Linked DNA regions of Homo sapiens: region 2 is linked to region 1. The links are contacts of gene promoters, found by promoter capture Hi-C in blood cells and fetal thymus (Javierre and others, 2016). All regions are on one chromosome and are shown on one strand. Each heading gives the region's core, a stretch centred on a gene start or on the middle of the fragment in contact. The rest is flanking DNA. Distances are from core to core; before and after follow the strand shown.

Region 1 (3,908 bases), core at 1,087-3,586:
GAGAAGCAGCAAAACCTGATTAAAATCCCTCATAATAGACACTTTTAAAAATACCTGAATTTTTAAGATAAACTTGAATATTGCATTTAAAAATCATACACGAATATTATTACTGCTGCCAATCATACAGAAATAATTTACGTAGTTCTTGGACTTTCACTTCTTAAAGCTTTCTGCTTTAGCAGATGCAGCTAATGTTGAGCACCTCCCAACATTTCCCAATATTTCCCCTTTTCCCTCTTTCTGTACTATGATTAAGGTGGTCTAAGTGCCATGATACCCTGCAGAATAATTCTGTGATACGAATAAGAAATTAAGGAGCAAAAAATCCCCAAACAAAGCAAGAGAGGCAAAGTAAATTTAGTTTCAACTATCCAAGTCACCCACGGGTGACAAATATCAGAGCAAGAATGTAACTAACAGAAAACTGTAGGAAAAGCCTTCATCTATTAACCAAATCAATTGATTAAGATAGCAACATTTGTATTTGCTGATTACTGGGGGCAGTTTCACAGAACACACATTCAAGCACATCTTTCCTGATTTTCTAACTGATCTTTGAGACCAAACCTTCTGAATCTACTTTCCAAAGTCTACATGCTGTTTGCAGTCCCTGGAGCAGAGGTTGTTAGCAAGAAATGGAGCACTTTGTGCCCTAACAACTTTTTGAGTAGTCAGGAAGTAGCTATCAATGACTGTCCATCATTAAAAGCACTATGTCACAACTTCATGCAAATCCAACAGCCAGCCCAGGGCTTCATTGTATCTCAGAGTAACATTCCTGCCTATGGTTTTTCTCTTACCCGTGTGAGTTCTAATGTGTCCTTGAAGCAACCAGGGTCTGGAAAACGCCTTGCCGCAGATCTTGCAAACACAAGGTAATGTGTGGGTCCGAATATGCATCTTCAGGGCGCCCAGGCTCACATATTCCTTGTCACAGTATTTACAGCTGAAAGATTTTCTAGACTGGGCATCGCAGTGCAGCTGCTTATGTTTGGCCAGCCCAGAAAAAGTTGAATAGGTCTTATTGCATAAATTGCACTGAAACTTTTCAGCTTCAATGGCATGGGGGTCTGAAAGCTTGGACTGTAGTCTTTCCTCTTCATCACTAATGGGGCTTTCTGAGCCACTGTGGTCCTTGGAGGAGGTGTCAGATGGAGGAGGGGGACTCACTCGCCCCAAAGATGAGGAGTATCCGGAAAGAGGAGAGAGGCCATTGGGTAGCTGGGCGTGGAATGGAGCAGCGGTAGTCCACACAGTGATGGGGCTGTATGCTCCTGAGCTGAGGATCTCTGGTTGTGGTATGACAGGCATGGAGTAACTCTCATAGAGATACGGGGAAATAATCACTGGGAAAGAAAAGGGAGGGAGAGAAGATTAAGGCAAAAATAATTAAAAATAAATCCACACGCAAGTATACACACACTGGAAAGATATTTAGCAACACACACGTGATTTTCTTAGGAAGAAGATAGACCCATTTAGGAGGGCATACACACTGGTAAAATGTTTCATTTCCACCCTGGCACCTACGGAGTTACTGTACTTAATGCACACATAGGCTGACAGCTGCACGGAGCTATAGGTGCTCTGAAGTCAGACAGTGCAGCCAAGCCAGTGCCTTCGCCGTCCCCATTGAGGAAGGAGAGCCTCAACATTATTTTTAAACATACAGAAAAGTTGTTTTCCATGTTACGTATGGGCTATTTAGGTGTATTACGACCGTGAGTACAAAGATATGCCTGCATCAAGCCGCCTTCTAAAGGAAAGGAGACTTAGTGCATGAAAAACGCAGTAATTCAATCCTTATGTTGCTCATCTTTCACATACTCATTATGCATGTATACACAGGCTTTAGCAAACGAAGCTGCGAGATTTGAATGAAATGTTCCTTGTTAGTCAAGAATTTTAAAAGTTTTGAATTAAAACGAACCCTAAATGATCAAAAGAATGTAAGCTCCCTTTCAGGACACTGTTAAAAAGGAAAACAGTTGAATCTTTGGCTCTTTTGTAATGGTATTTGAAGGGTAATACGTAGATTCATATTTGCAAAGCTCTAGATACGTAGTTCTAGATATATTTTTCTCTTTTTACCTGTATGTGTGTCCAGTTCGCTGTAGTTTGGCTTTTTGGAGGCGTTGAAATGCTTCTTGACCAGGAAGGAGCGCGGCATCTTGCCAGCGGGTCTGGCGGGCGCCCGGCGCGGATAACGGTCCGGCGGGAGGACACGGCGGTCCCTACAGCATCGCGGCGGGCCAGGCTCGGGCAGGGGCCGTGCTCAGGTGCGGCAGACGGACGGGCCGGCGCCTCTGAAGTCACCCGGCTCCTTTACGAACTGAGCCCGTTTTGGCTGGGAGGGTTTTTTTTTCCTCTCTTTTGCAAGAAAGATCCAATCACAGCTGAGAGGTTCAGATTTCAGCTCCTCCCTCTGGGACAGCTGTGAACAGAGGAAGAATCTGTTGTCAGACTAAATTATTCTGGTTCAAAATGGGCTGTTTTTTGAGATTTCAGTGGAGAGGAAAAAAAGTGTTTAAGTATTTTCAAGAGAGGTAACCTCGCTCGGTGAGCCCCGCCCGCGATCCACGCTCTCTGGGAGCTAGGAGGGGCGCAGGAGCCGGGGTCTCTGCCCTGCCCGCCTGGCTTCCAGATGTGGTGCAGCGCCAGCGCGCGGGGACACAGTGTCCGCCAGGAGAAGGAAGGGCCGCCCTGCACCACACCAGGCCAGCCTCTGGTGTTAATGAGAGCCTATATTTGGAAGTGGCATCTGGAGAGGTTTGCCTTGCACAAAGACCAAATAATTACCTCTTGGCTTTTGAAAAAGGAAGGGGGAAGCGGGAAGACAAAGGCGCCTGTGAGCGCGGAGGACGCTCTCCTGGGACTCTGGCCTGGAGCGGGACTGCAGCCTTGCGTGCGGCGAGGGCGCTGCGCTACTCAGGGCTTCCGCGAAGCCAGGGGCAGCGCGGCCGCGTGCAAATTAAGTACTCATGTCACCGTGTTAGCTATGGTGGCTTGAAAGAAATGCTTTGTAGCCCTCTAAAGGCAGGCTGATCGGAAGAACTGGAAGATTGCAAAGATAAAAAGGAACTCTGGCAGAGAAGGGGGGCAAGAGGTAACTGTCATTTGGAACCACCGGACATTCTCTCACACTTTTGACAAGAGATCTTATCTTTTCATGTATTACAGTGCATCTTTTTTTTTATGGGAAAAAGGGTTGTATGGGTCTTTAGAGACAATTATTTTTATTTCTAATATTCCCCTGCTTTTATGTGGTGCTATTTTCATCAGTATAAAGCCATTAAAATCCATCTCAGTATCTACCAGTTTCCTGTATAATGCTAAAAAAGAAATTGAAGGATATTATTATGAATATAGATTGATTAAAGTTTTAAGAACCCAGTCTAGTAACTGCAAAAACACCTTTATTTTGTGTATGGTCTTCAATCTAAAAATACTTTCAGGTGGTTTATTTTAAATATAAAATTTCAAGCATATTTTAAAGCATCTCTGTCCATTGCAGACTTTTATCCCTATCTTTTGCTAAAAGAATAAGGAAAGAACAAATTCACATGAAGATCACCCTACTCTTGTTTCTAACAGGTGCTGGAGGAAAAAAGTGAAAAAGAAAATAACAGTGGTGATGTCAAGACTTGTCAGAGAAAAGTGCATTGTCAGGTTGCATAACTTCTTAATCTTGGAATGAGAAAACAAGAGTGTATGTGTGTTTGGAGGGTGAGGTGGGGCACTCACAGATTTCCTAAGCTAATTTCAATGATTATTCTTATTTCTTCCAACAGTCACTAATTTAAATGTCAAACAGAGAAAATAATTCAAAGGAATCCTTATGCTAATGGAACTGTACTTGCAGGAGAGAGGAAAATATGAATACATATTCGATTTCTCCACACACA
Region 2 (4,427 bases), core at 942-3,441, 330 kb before region 1:
CACATCAGGCAGAGGGAGCCTTGGAGCGGAGGGTGCTGGCTCAGGACTGCTGGCCAAGCCCATGGTGGAGTCAGGCCGGCCTGCAGTTGGACACTCTTGACTGATTAAACATTAATAGGCAATTCTAACAAAAACAGAGAGGATGGCAACTCCATAGGAAGGAGGGCCACATGTGGGGGTGAATTCCAAGTCAAACATTTTCCCCAAAGAATTTGTTGTTAAACTTTTAATTTTGAGATAACTGAAGATTCACATGTAGTGGTCAGATATAATATAGCATGATCTTCTGTGCCTTTTACCCAGTTTTCTCCGTCATAACATCTGCAAACGTAGCACTATATTACAGTATCTCAACCAGTGTATAAATGCATACACTCACCAGTGTCACTGGGGTTCCTCCAGTCTCAGTTCATTTGTGTGCATTTATTTTCCGTAACTGTATCACTGCTGTAGAGTAGGATGGCCACCTTGACAGTCAAGAGGCAGAACAGCTCCACACGAGGGTTCCTGTCTTCCTTGCTCCTGGAACCATTAATCTGCTCTCCGTCTCTATAATTTTATCCTTTGAGACTGTTACATAAACAAAACCACACAGTAACCTCACAAGGCATTTTTGCACTCAGTAAAATGCCCTTGAGACCCATTCACGTTGCTGTGTGTATCAGAGCCCGTTCCTTTCCATAGCTGAGCCGTGTTCCTGGTGTGGACACACCACTGTTTAATCAGTCATCGTCGAAGGACGGCTGCCTTGTCCCCCATTTTCGACCATTACAAATGAAGCTTCCATGAGCATTCATGTACAAGTTTCTTTGTGAACTTAAGCTTTCAAGAAATTAAAAAAGAAATGTTTTCAAATGCTTGAGCAAATAGCCAAGATCCCAGGGCACCGTGGGAAAGTGTGGAAGTGAGGATTTTTTTTTTTTTTTTGAGATGGAGCCTTGCTCTGTGGCCCAAGCTGGAGTGCAGTGGCACAATCTCGGCTCACTGCAACCTCCGCCTCCCGGGTTCACACCATTCTCCTGCCTCAGCCTCCCGAGTAGCTGGGACTACAGGTGCCTGCCACCACACCTGGCTAATTTTTTGTTTTTGTATTTTTAGTAGAGATGGGGATTCACCGCGTTAGCCAGGATGGTCTTGATCTCCTGACCTCGTGATCTGCCTGCCTCGGCCTCCCAAAGTGCTGGGATTACAGGCATGAGCCACCGCGCCTAGCTGGAAATAAAGATTTTAACTTGAAAATTGTATGAATAAAAGTTACTAGTTGGCAACCTCGACCATGAAACTAAACTTCAGCATGGCTCACTTGGAGCCTGTGACTTTGAGAGCGCTGCCTCCTGCTTCTGCCTCCCTGCATGAACTGACTTAGTGAAAGACGCTATGGAATATTACCCGTTTGAATGCTGGAGAATGCCTGACAAAGACCATTTAGCTTTGCCACCGTCAGCGTTCTTTCTAACTGCACCGAGCTGACACTGAGTCTTCAGTGTGCCTCTGCGAATAATACAATTATGCTACCAGCTGAGAAAATAGCTCCCATCTTTCTTTTGGCTTGGGCAGGATGACATGTGTTCATTGCATTTTTTTTTTTGAGGTGGAATCTCGCTCTGTCACCAGACTGGAGTGCAGTAGTGCGACGTTGGCTCACTGCAACCTCTGCCTCCTGGGTTCAAGCTATTCTGCCTCAGCCTCCGAGTAACTGGGACTACAGGGGCACGCCACCACATCCAGCTAATTTTTGTATTTTTAGTAGAGACAGGGTTTCACCATGTTGGCCAGGATGGTCTCGATCTCTTGATCTCATGATCTACCTGCCTTGGCCTCCCAAAGTGCTGGGATTACAGGCATAAGCCACCATGCCCAGCCAATTTCAAAATTTTAAGTGGTTATTTTGAGAATTTAAAACGTGGGGGATGAGGACTTTGGATGCTGCTGTATCTGTAGTGATTCTGAGAGTTGTGTTATTTTGTAGTCATACCTTACACAAGGCCTCCTCTGCTTTCTGAATGTGGCATGCAGGGGAGAGGGTCTGCACTGGTCCTCAACCCGGGTACAGCTGGAGTATGTGGCTGACACCAGCGTGAGTGCTGTCCTTGGAGGAGACTGCATTTCCCAAGTGGTGCTTCAGAAGAAGTTCCTGGAATAATAGTGGAGGACATTTCACTTTGATTTTTTGGGCATGCTGTCTCAAATGTCCTCCATGCCCTCGGGCAAATTGGAAGTCAAGGTTGGTCAAATTTAGGGGTGTCTAAGACAGGCATCTCCACCGGATGCCTTACATTGATAGCAGTGACATCATTGTTTAAATGATCATCTCTGAATAATCAAACATAACATGTTATGTGTGGATTTGTCTGCTATCGCTGAAACTGTTCTGGATTTGGAAGAACTGGACAGAGGTGCCTTGAGTGACGGTCAGTATTCGAGTGTGAGGGCCATATTTTGTCACCTGAATGAAGTAGGGTGCCATTTCCAGAGGAGGCGTGGCGGAAGTGGTGCTTCTTGGCTGGGTGCCGGCTCATCTATTCAGCCTGACACAGTTCCACATGTGCCTTTGACCAGTGCCACCCCTGGCCTGCACTGAAATGCCGTAGTCTCTCTTCTTGGTGTGTTTCTAGACCTTGATGATCTTCCTGCCTGGTTATCCTCTGAATACTGCATAGCCATATATTGTCTTCCCTTGAAGGTCCAGATTCAAACTTTTAGGAATTCATTCACCAAGTATTTACAACATGCCACAGATTTTGTTAGTGTTGGGGAGACAAAAGGTATAGTTCCAAGTGCCTTTAGATGCCTTCAAGACAGACACAAGACACAATCTGCACACGAATTCCTGGTGTGGTGGCCCTGGTTGTGAGGTGTGACGGGAGTGCTGATGAGGGACCCCAAGCCACCTGGGGCCAGAAGGGTCCTTTCCTCTGAGACCTGCTGGGCCACTATCTCTTAGCTGGGTTAGCAGGTCTCCTTGATAAGCATCCACGTGGTCCATGGCACACTGAGAGCTTCTCTCCCTGTCAGGCACCTAGGCATTCCCTGTGTGTCTGTCTCAGGTCTTTCAACTGGCATTGCATTTGATTTCTTTTCAGCCTTTGGTTAGTATTCTCACTACACTAGGAAAACATGTGAGGTGACCTCCACAACAATACACAGGACCATTAAAAATAACATCAGGGGGAAGGACCAGCCAGAGGAAGAGTGGGAGATGATGCCAGCAAAAGTCTGTCTGCAGGTGCATCTGTCTGCAGGTTGCCCTGGGCTCCAGTGACCAGCCTGCTCTGTCTACCTTTGCATGATCTCCTGCAAATTGAGTAGCTTAATTTTTTTTATTTTTATTTTTAAAATGGTATCTCTCTGTCACCCAGGCTGCAGTGCAGTGGTACAATCACAGCTTACTGCAGCGTCGACCTCCCGGGCTTAAGGGATGCTCCCGTCTCAGCCTCCCAAGTAGCTGGGACCACAGGCACATGCCACCACGCTTGGCCAGGTGGCTTACTTTAGTGTTAGTTGGTGTGCTACTAAAGAATTAAAAAAAATTATCATTGAGAGTGTAATATAAGCTGATAAAAGCTTGAAAATACTAGATCTTCATTGTTTCTAGAAAATTTGGAACTCCATGTTGGGAATTCTAGAATGGCTACGGCCGCCAGCCCTCATTAGACCCTGAAATGAAGGAACTCAGTCCTGTGGTTTGTTTTTAACTTCCTTTCTGTTTCTTTGTCCCTGTCTTTCTGAGCCTGGCTTTTGTTGTTGTTGTTGTTGTTGTTAATCTGTATTTAATCCAAGCTCCAATACTTTTCCCTGTGCAAGTCTTCAGGACATTCCTTGCTCTTGAGTCCAAGTATTTGCCTGTGAAAAACAGGGAAAATGATATGTACCTTATGCTGATGTCACTGGGTAAATTAAATGATGGCTAACTATATAAAATGTCTAGTGAGGTGCCTGGAAGAAAACGTGTTCTCAGCAGCTCTTAGGAGTCCAGGTTTCAGTCCTGATCTGCTGACTTCCACTGGAGTCCTGCTGGCACTCTGGGTGGTTAGAGGACAGGAGAGCCATGCAGTGCACGGGGAGGAAGGCGGCAGTGCCAGCTCACATCTGGCAGGGGGCAGTGGCCCTGGTGTTGGGAAGCCCATACCTCCTGGCTGCTGTAGTGTGCTGTGACCCGCTTCACCTGCACCCATCTACAGACCTGCCCTCGGGGTCCCTCAGTAAGAACCAACTGGGATTCAACTTTAGCTGACATGGAAGAGTGATCTCTACACTGTAGATGAGTAAAAGGCAAAAGTCTTGTATTTAATGATATCAAAGCATGGTAAATTATTCAAAAATTTTCACATGGAGCAGTTGTTTTGAATGAGGTCCACTTAATGCTACTCAATAAGGTCTTAATTTGTATATGATTTCACCATTAAGTCTATCATGGTGCAACCATT

The links. The method cuts DNA at HindIII sites, captures the fragments that hold promoters and counts their contacts. A CHiCAGO score of 5 or more calls a contact.
Region 2: a fragment that was not itself captured here is called in contact with the fragment with the promoter of SNAI2 in region 1 in 2 of 17 cell types (M0 macrophages and M1 macrophages); the score reaches 6.8 in M0 macrophages.

The regions. Positions count from the first base shown.
Region 1 is chr8:48,919,093-48,923,000 of GRCh38, forward strand. It overlaps SNAI2 (snail family transcriptional repressor 2), which reads right to left and starts at 2,337. Exons shown (of 3, transcript NM_003068.5): 1 at 2,095-2,337; 2 at 804-1,349. The coding sequence starts at 2,173. LOC107986942 (a long non-coding RNA gene) reads left to right here and starts at 2,465. Exons shown (of 4, transcript XR_001745895.3): 1 at 2,465-3,109; 2 at 3,598-3,672. RefSeq lists an enhancer at 2,448-2,527. The HindIII fragment of the contact is 2,868 bases long and covers 1,079-3,908 here.
Region 2 is chr8:48,593,676-48,598,102 of GRCh38, forward strand. LINC02847 (long intergenic non-protein coding RNA 2847) reads right to left here. Exons shown (of 4, transcript NR_187517.1): 4 at 3,411-3,843. All of the region lies in intron 2 of LOC101929268 (a long non-coding RNA gene), which reads left to right. LOC124901943 (a long non-coding RNA gene) reads right to left here and starts at 1,635. Exons shown (of 3, transcript XR_007060909.1): 1 at 380-1,635. The HindIII fragment of the contact is 2,742 bases long and covers 821-3,562 here.